Linked DNA regions of Homo sapiens: region 1 is linked to region 2. Evidence: promoter capture Hi-C in 16 types of primary human blood cells and fetal thymus (Javierre and others, 2016). All regions are on one chromosome and are shown on one strand. Each heading gives the region's core, a stretch centred on a gene start or on the middle of the fragment in contact. The rest is flanking DNA. Distances are from core to core; before and after follow the strand shown.

Evidence for each region. Contacts are between HindIII fragments. The CHiCAGO score rates a contact against its expected background, and 5 or more counts as called.
Region 1: a contact is called between a fragment that was not itself captured here and the fragment with the promoter of CCN2 in region 2, in 2 of 17 cell types (megakaryocytes and endothelial precursors). The highest score is 6.5, in megakaryocytes.

Annotation. Positions count from the first base shown.
Region 1 is chr6:132,229,463-132,233,654 of GRCh38, forward strand. No RefSeq gene overlaps it. Among named protein-coding and RNA genes, the nearest start is that of LINC01013, 99 kb to the left of the region's middle. The HindIII fragment of the contact is 6,063 bases long and covers 1-4,192 here.
Region 2 is chr6:131,949,436-131,953,319 of GRCh38, forward strand. CCN2 (cellular communication network factor 2) reads right to left here and starts at 1,937. Exons shown (of 5, transcript NM_001901.4): 1 at 1,672-1,937; 2 at 1,335-1,557; 3 at 857-1,108; 4 at 514-725; 5 at 1-125. The coding sequence starts at 1,737. All of the region lies in intron 2 of CCN2-AS1 (CCN2 antisense RNA 1), which reads left to right. The HindIII fragment of the contact is 12,519 bases long and covers 1-3,884 here.

The DNA of each region.
Region 1 (4,192 bases), core at 1,692-4,191, 280 kb after region 2:
TGAAATGAAAACAAAATGTTCTTTTGTAGAACTCACTGACTCTTAAGTCCTAGGGTTCCAGTGGTGTGCAGCATTAGAGATGGAACTCTGCCCCTATTTCCTATCTATCCAATCTACTGTAGGGCAAAAGGCCTATACTTGTGAAGGGCTGCTTGGGACAAGGCTGCTTTCTGTGACCTTGGAAAGTTAATTAGATTGCCCAAGGATTGAAATCATAACCTATTCTTCATTAACTTCATGCTATTCATGCAATAATACATAGAACTAAATTGCTAGTGCAAGTATAAAATAGTAGTGGTTAAGACTTCTAGGTTGTATTTAAATTTCAATAATTGTCATAACTAAGTTTAATCATAACATGAATGAAGTAAGAATATATTGTGGAAGTAAAAAATGACTTTGAAGATGCAAATAATAGCAATAATGTGCTATAAAAATTATATATTTGACTAGTGATCTCATACTTAAAAGTAGAAGGTAATGTTTTGTGCTCTTGGAGTTATTTAACCCAGGGAATTCTACTCTGCCTGGATGCTTCTACTAGACTATAAATGCTTTCATAAGAAATATGACTTAGGCATACCTCTAATATAAGCATTTAAAAATGTTATTTGTGTCATCTTTCAATCTCTTCTTCTAGACTTTGGAAAAGTACCATTTCTTTATATATCCATCCCTGATTCCCACTCGGTTCTTTTGTATCCTTTAAGGACCATTTAAATCTGCAATGCCTAAGTAACTGAGAATTCAGTGTCTGGTTTGTTTGCTTTCTCTTTTTGCCATATATTTAAAAAATAGCATATGGAAATGAAGCTAAAGTAAATAGGATGAAAGAAATGTATTCTCATATGGATATGCTAATGAATATGAAATAACTTGGTTATTTCACATAGAACTAGCTAGTTAAGGCTATCTAGTACCTTCCCCAAGCCACTAACATGTCATTGGCCACAATTTGCATAATCAGGAATCTCTAAATATATAAATGTTATAGAAGATTTCTGCAAAATAGTATGATAGATCTGATTTAATTGATCATAAGGTTTCATGGCTTCACGCCTATGAATGGAATGATTGGCAGAATTTTACACCTTATCAGTTGCATTAGTCAACCTAGCTTGTGTAGATCTAGTGTTTTGCATGTCTTTTCTGTGGTTGGCATATGATTCTCTCAACAGCTGTTTACCATAGCTATGGGTCACTGATATGTCCCATGTGACATTTATAAATGTCTTGTGTTGTTCACAAGACATTTATAAAATTCAGCTGTGGTTCATGTATCACTGATGTGGTCTACACATGTCTTAAAGAATTTTTTTCTTTTCTGTTTTTTTCAAGGAGGGACTCATTTGGAATTCCTTACTCTACAAAGTTTGGGGTTTTCTGAAGGTTTGCAACATTGAAGAGAACAACCCTGTCATGCTAGCAGAGGAGAAACTACAGTCTTTGATGGCAGGTTGACAAGGGTACTCTGTCCCTGGAGTCATTTTATTATCTGACTTCTGTATTCTGCCAAAGACACTGAGACCACCTACCTGCACATTGGAAAATACAGCTGAGATCTGTCTTTGTGACCCAGACAGATGCCCTCTCAACTTCTCTCTGTTCTGAAGGAAAACATTGCAGCCCAGGCCAGATGAAAACAAGCACTTTCCCCCCCACTTTTTCTGTGGGAAAGATGAGTTGAAACCAAAGTTAATATATTTGAAAAATCTGGGGGAAAAACAGAACAGATTTTTAAAAAGCTGTTTCTTTACCCATCGGTATGCTATTTGCAGAAGTCTTACAAAGGAAACTTCTGTTGGAGTGGAAAACACTGAGAGAAACCCATGTTATGTGAGACTTTAATTCCCTGGAGCTGGGAAAATGAAAGAATCAGGTCCCTATATTCTTGGACTGTTGTCATTAGTTACCAAGAATGTTTATTCAATTGGTTTTAACCATTTCATTAGGAATTCCTTTCATCTGCTGGATATAGTTAACGCAAGACAGGTGAAGCTAATTTTATAAAGCAGTATTGTTACATTATATGCAACAGATTTCTGAGCACAGAAAGGAAGAAGAATCGATTTTTATCTGCTCATTTTTTAAAAGATATTTTTCACCAACCGTATATCTGTACTATCATTACAACAATGCAGTCTGGCTACAATCTCAGGGAATCAATGTGATTTATGTCATAATGCTTTCTTCTTGGAAGGGTACATTTGGCACAAGATAACTGATTTTAAGCAATAAACTTACAGACTCTGGGCCAATCTTGTTAAACCATTGGCTAGTGCAAAGCTAAATCACTTAATATAATTCCCACCTAGAGGCTCATCCATTTTTTAAAATCACTAAACTACTGGCAAATTCATGTTAACAAGATCAGAATAAAAGCTGCTAGGATATTCAGTATTTTGCATGATGGACCTCTCCTTTCCACCAAGAGCACAGGTTAGTTTCTATCAGATTAAACAAAATGATTTAAAAGAGTAAACTTTTAATCAGTGTTTTTCTAGCTTGTAGCATATGACTCATATTAAGAAACATATTTTATATCAGATTCCACATATATAATCTGAAACAAATTTTTCAGGGAATAATACACATGCTTATAATTACGTGGTGCTCTTGAATATGTTCTAGTCTATTCTACTGTATTAATGTAAATTATTTCATAATTATTACTACCTAGCTTTGTATCATGAATAGTTTGAAATACATGGCTTTAGATAACATTCACTCTGGAGCTGAAAGCCTGGCACAAAATAAAATTGTGCCTAAATTGATTAGTAATATGCCAATTATTAGTGAGTACAAAGCCAAGCACTTTTAAAATTTATTCATTAGCCGACAAATCTCCATAAAAACCATGCAAGTATTTTATAAATGAAGGGCATAGAAGAGCAAATTTCATGGCAAAGTTTTCATAAATAGTTGCAGAACTTTGATAGGCATCCAGAACTACTCATGCCTGAACCATGAAATTAACATCTAAGCAGAAGCCTGGGTCTTGGGTCATCTTCTAGACCTGGGAATATTTAATTGACCTTAGACTCTCCAGATTACAGGGGATATTTAGAAAGTCTTACTTGGTTCTGAGAAAATTTCCATATCTCTAGAATATTTGTGGCCTCCTCAATCCTCCTTCAAATTGCTTATGTCCTTCATTGGGCAAAGAGTTAGACCCGCGGTCCACCTGGTGGGATCTGCACATCAAGGGAGGGCATGGGAGAGTTCTTTCCCTGAGATTGGCCTTTGCATAAAAGTTAGCTCATTTTAAGGTCTAGGGGACTATGTCTACCAGTAGTAGTAGTAGTAGACATAGTAACTTATTCTAGAACTATTAGAAGGGAAAATCTGACTGTAATAGGGACCTATGACTAAACCTGGGGTCAAGGAGGTGTGTGGTATCACAGCTTGGATTCTTTTTTTTTTTTTCAGCAGGTGGAGCGATCCTAGCACCAAATTAACCCCAGATACATAAAGAGAGATTCACAGACGCAGTTATCCTATGTAAAGGGGCTCAAGTTTGTTTGACCACTGGCCTCTGCAATGGATTTGGAACTGTTAATAGCCAATTCTTCAACAATAGTCTTTTTACTCCTATTAACAGATGGGGCAGCAATAAGTAACTCAAATTTGTTGAGGAGCAACTTTATTTTGATGTCCCAGAGTTCAGTGAAGCAAGACAGTATTCTCATAGACTGCCTGACTAATGTGTTCTGAACACGACAAACTAATTTATGAGCAAGAAATTCATTGGTTCACATAGTGGTCAAAATGATTAGGTAATTTAACAGAAATAACTAATAAATTGCTTGATTATTTAACATAATTCTGAGTTGTCAACCAAAACAGCAAAGCCTTTTTTTTTTTTTTAGGGGCTGAATCTTGCCTTGTCATCCAGGCTGGAGTGCAGTGGCATGGTCACTCAAGTGATCCTCCCACCTCAGCCTCCTGAGTAGGTATGACTGCAGGTGCACACAAGACCACATCCAATTAATATTTAAATTTTTCATAGAGATGGAGTCTCACTATGTTGCCCAGGCTGGTCCCAAACTTCTGACTTAAAGCAATCCTCCCACATCTGTCTCCCGAAGCACTAAAAACAGCAAATCTAAATAAAGACCGTAAACACTGATGAAAGGACAAATAAGAGCACAGTGCAGGCCTAGCTGTGGAGCCAAAAAATGAGATGCGGAGC
Region 2 (3,884 bases), core at 687-3,186:
CAGCATCGGCCGTCGGTACATACTCCACAGAATTTAGCTCGGTATGTCTTCATGCTGGTGCAGCCAGAAAGCTCAAACTTGATAGGCTTGGAGATTTTGGGAGTACGGATGCACTTTTTGCCCTTCTAAGGAAGACAAGGGAAAAGAGAGAGGAAAAAAAAAAATCAGCGACTCTACAAGAGGAGTGGCTTTCTTCAACCCTCTGTGTTTTAGTCTTCTGTTGTCTGACTTCTGTTTATATTTTGAGGGGAGGAAGTTTGAGTCTCATTTGCTATGTCCAAAAATAGCCAGAGCCTCTCTTGGAATGTCTTGAATTAACTAACCCTGTGGAAGATTTCGTAGTGGAAAACTGGTGGTTGCTATTACACAAGCTCTCATTCCAGCAAAACAGCTCAATGGTTAGATAGTTTTGGAGATAACGGGCTTATACTAACAAGCGTGGCAAGAGCCCTAAGTTGGGTCCTATCCACTGTTTTTCCTGTGAAAAATAGTTAATAGGAGCAGAACATGTACCTTAATGTTCTCTTCCAGGTCAGCTTCGCAAGGCCTGACCATGCACAGGCGGCTCTGCTTCTCTAGCCTGCAGGAGGCGTTGTCATTGGTAACCCGGGTGGAGATGCCCATCCCACAGGTCTTGGAACAGGCGCTCCACTCTGTGGTCTGGACCAGGCAGTTGGCTCTAATCATAGTTGGGTCTGGGCCAAACGTGTCTTCCAGTCGGTAAGCTGCGAGAGCAGAGCACACAAACACCATGTAAAACGCCTGGATAAGGTATTTCCCCCGTTCGGTCGGCACAGTTAGGACTCCCTCCCTGGGAGAGAATCACGACCCTGACTTAGAGGAAGACTCGACTCACCCGCGAGGGCAGGCCCAACCACGGTTTGGTCCTTGGGCTCGTCACACACCCACTCCTCGCAGCATTTCCCGGGCAGCTTGACCCTCCTCGGGAAGGGGCAGTCAGGGCTGGGCAGACGAACGTCCATGCTGCACAGGGGCATGCAGCCCACCGCCCCGTCCAGGCACGTGCACTGGTACTTGCAGCTGCTCTGGAAGGACTCTCCGCTGCGGTACACCGTACCACCGAAGATGCAGGGAGCACCATCTTTGGCTGGAGAAGAGGAAGGGAAGAGAGGGGTGGGGGATGCAGAGGTCAGGCATTGGGGCACTCTCACATCCAGAGCGTCAGGGATGCGAGTTGGGATCTGGGCTGCAGGGGGCGGGCTGGCAGCAGCTGGAGAAAGAAACTCAGTCCGAGCGGTTTCTTTTTCCAGCGGGCGGGTGGGCGTGAGGGAGGAGGCGGCCGGACACCTAGCGGTGGGGGCTGCGGGTCTTACCGGTGCACACGCCGATCTTGCGGTTGGCCGGGGAGCCGAAGTGACAGAATAGGCCCTTGTGCGGGTCGCATGGGTCGCGCTCGGTGCACAGCTCGCCCAGCTGCTTGGCGCAGACGCGGCAGCAGCCGCAGCCGTCCAGCACGAGGCTCACGCCCGCCGGGCAGCGCGGCGCCGGCTCGTCCGGGCACCGGCACGGCCCGCTGCAGTTCTGGCCGACGGCCGGCTGCAGGGAGGACAGGGCGGTCAGCGGCGCTCGGTCGGCGCGCACGCCCTCCCCGGCCGGCCCCGAGTCCCTCCCTGGCAGCCGCCGGCCGCAGCGGGGGCTCCCGGCGCTTACCCGGCTGCAGAGGGCGAGGAGGACCACGAAGGCGACGCGGACGGGGCCCATACTGGCGGCGGTCATGGTTGGCACTGCGGGCGGAGCGGAGGGCGCGGTGGCGGCGAGCGGGGAGCGGCGGGGCCTGGAGCGCTGGCGGTGGTCGGAGGTGGGGACCGGGACGCGCCGGGCTGTCGTCTCGGGGCTGTCGGCCGGGGCGGCTGCCGTCGAGCTGGAGGGTGGAGTCGCACTGGCTGTCTCCTCTCAGCGGGGAAGAGTTGTTGTGTGAGTTTGGGGCGGGCGGCCCGAGGCTTTTATACGCTCCGGGCGGCCGCGGCTCGCCAATGAGCTGAATGGAGTCCTACACAAACAGGGACATTCCTCGCATTCCTCCCCACCTTCCTGCCTCATCAACTCACACCGGATTGATCCTGACCCCTTGACACTCAGCATTCCTCCGTCTGAAAAAGCTGGCACACTCCAGCTCACAGAAAAAAAAAAAAAGGAAAAAAAAAAGCGCAGTATTTCCAGCACCAAATAGAATTTTTTTTTCCCTATCCTCTTCGCACCACTCCTGATTCATATCATTTATAAACACACTGGCAATTATTTCTTATTTCTTTTTCGAATAAGTTTGCCCTGTTCTGTCCACTGACATACATCCTTTTTAGGAAGTAGGTAGCTGAAGAGGCAAACAGCAGGAATTCCTAAAAAATTCGAAAAGGTTTCTCCCCCCCAACCCTTAGCAATGATTTGCGTTTTAGAGGCTATAGGCTCTTGAAACTCTCCAAAGAGTAGAAAAGGAGTGAGTTGCTTTTAACCATTTGAAATCCTCAAGATGCCTACCTGTAAAACCCTGAATTCTATATTTGAGATTTGATCATTTGTCACTTGAGGTAACGGTTTTGGGACAAGAAAGAGAACAAAGACGCGTGTGACTCAGGATGCAGTCTCCTGGGGCAGATTTCCAAAACTCTTGCTTAGTTTTCTCTTAATATATGTAGGAGTTTTATATAGGCAAGGACAAGGGAGGAGTGGCCATCAATGTTTCCAGAAAAAGGGATCCATTGTTCTATCAGAGCAAATGATTCTGTGTTGGGTAGGTAGGGGCTCTGGGTGTCAGGGTGGGAACACTGGGATGCAAAGGGGGTTCACCTAGGAGCATTTAAACACAGCTTCACTAGGGTCTTTGAGAAATGAGTGCATTTTCTTATATTAAAACCTATAATCTTCAAATGTGGATTGGATTTGGTTTGTCTTGTTAAAATAAGAAGTCTGATTCCATTACAAGAGCAGTGTACCCTGTTGTATCTGGATATAAACTAAGATTGACAGTGAATAATATATTTTTAGTGACTCCCCACACATCTATGAATAGTGATTGTGACTTCTCATTACCCAAGGAACATGCAGCCTGAGGGAGTGAGGTCAGGACAAGGAAAGAATAGGCTTTATTCTCCCTGGGTGTGTGCAGATGTTGAATATGGCCAATAAACCTAAGCATATCTCCATTTCTTAATATAGTGCTACTTAGCTTCACTAAAGACCCAACTAATTCACTGTGCTTTCATTTGGAATCTATGTTGTTTAGTGGCTTTTTTGTTAATACCTCCAGTTCCCATTTTATATAAAGAGAGTGATTCTAGGGCCATACCATTTTTGTATTCTGTAATGCCGCATCATTTGACATTGGTGTTACCAATGAGTAGATTCCTTTAAGTTGTTGATGCTTCAGAGCATGGGTTCAAGATAAGCATATCTGTTTGTGGTGCAAAGATCGGCTTTAGAAACAATGCATTATAGATTTATCATTTGAAAACAGCCTGTTTAAACTGATCAAATTTTTAAAGTTTCAGTACAGTCTGTTGAAAAATAGCCAAGAAGAAATATAACCACTCCAACTTCAGCATAGAGCATATCATCTGTGCACGATTACCTCGTTAAGCCAGCCACATGTTATAGAGTGTAGTTGCATGTCAATAGTGTGAATGGCCAGCAAAGGGGTGGGGGTGCCCTCTGAAGCTCAGGAAGAATTTTCGTCATTGTTATTTAATGTCCTTTCCAAGCATTCCTCAAAAAGAAGAGGCCTAAGAGTTCCTATTTAAAGAAGGAACATTCCAAGTTAACTTAATAGCCACATGTGTATTAAAGGCAACTTGGCCCTCAACTTTTTCTTCCCTTGTGGATGATTTTAAAAGTCCAAAATATGTGGGAAGCCACAGTGAAACCTTTCA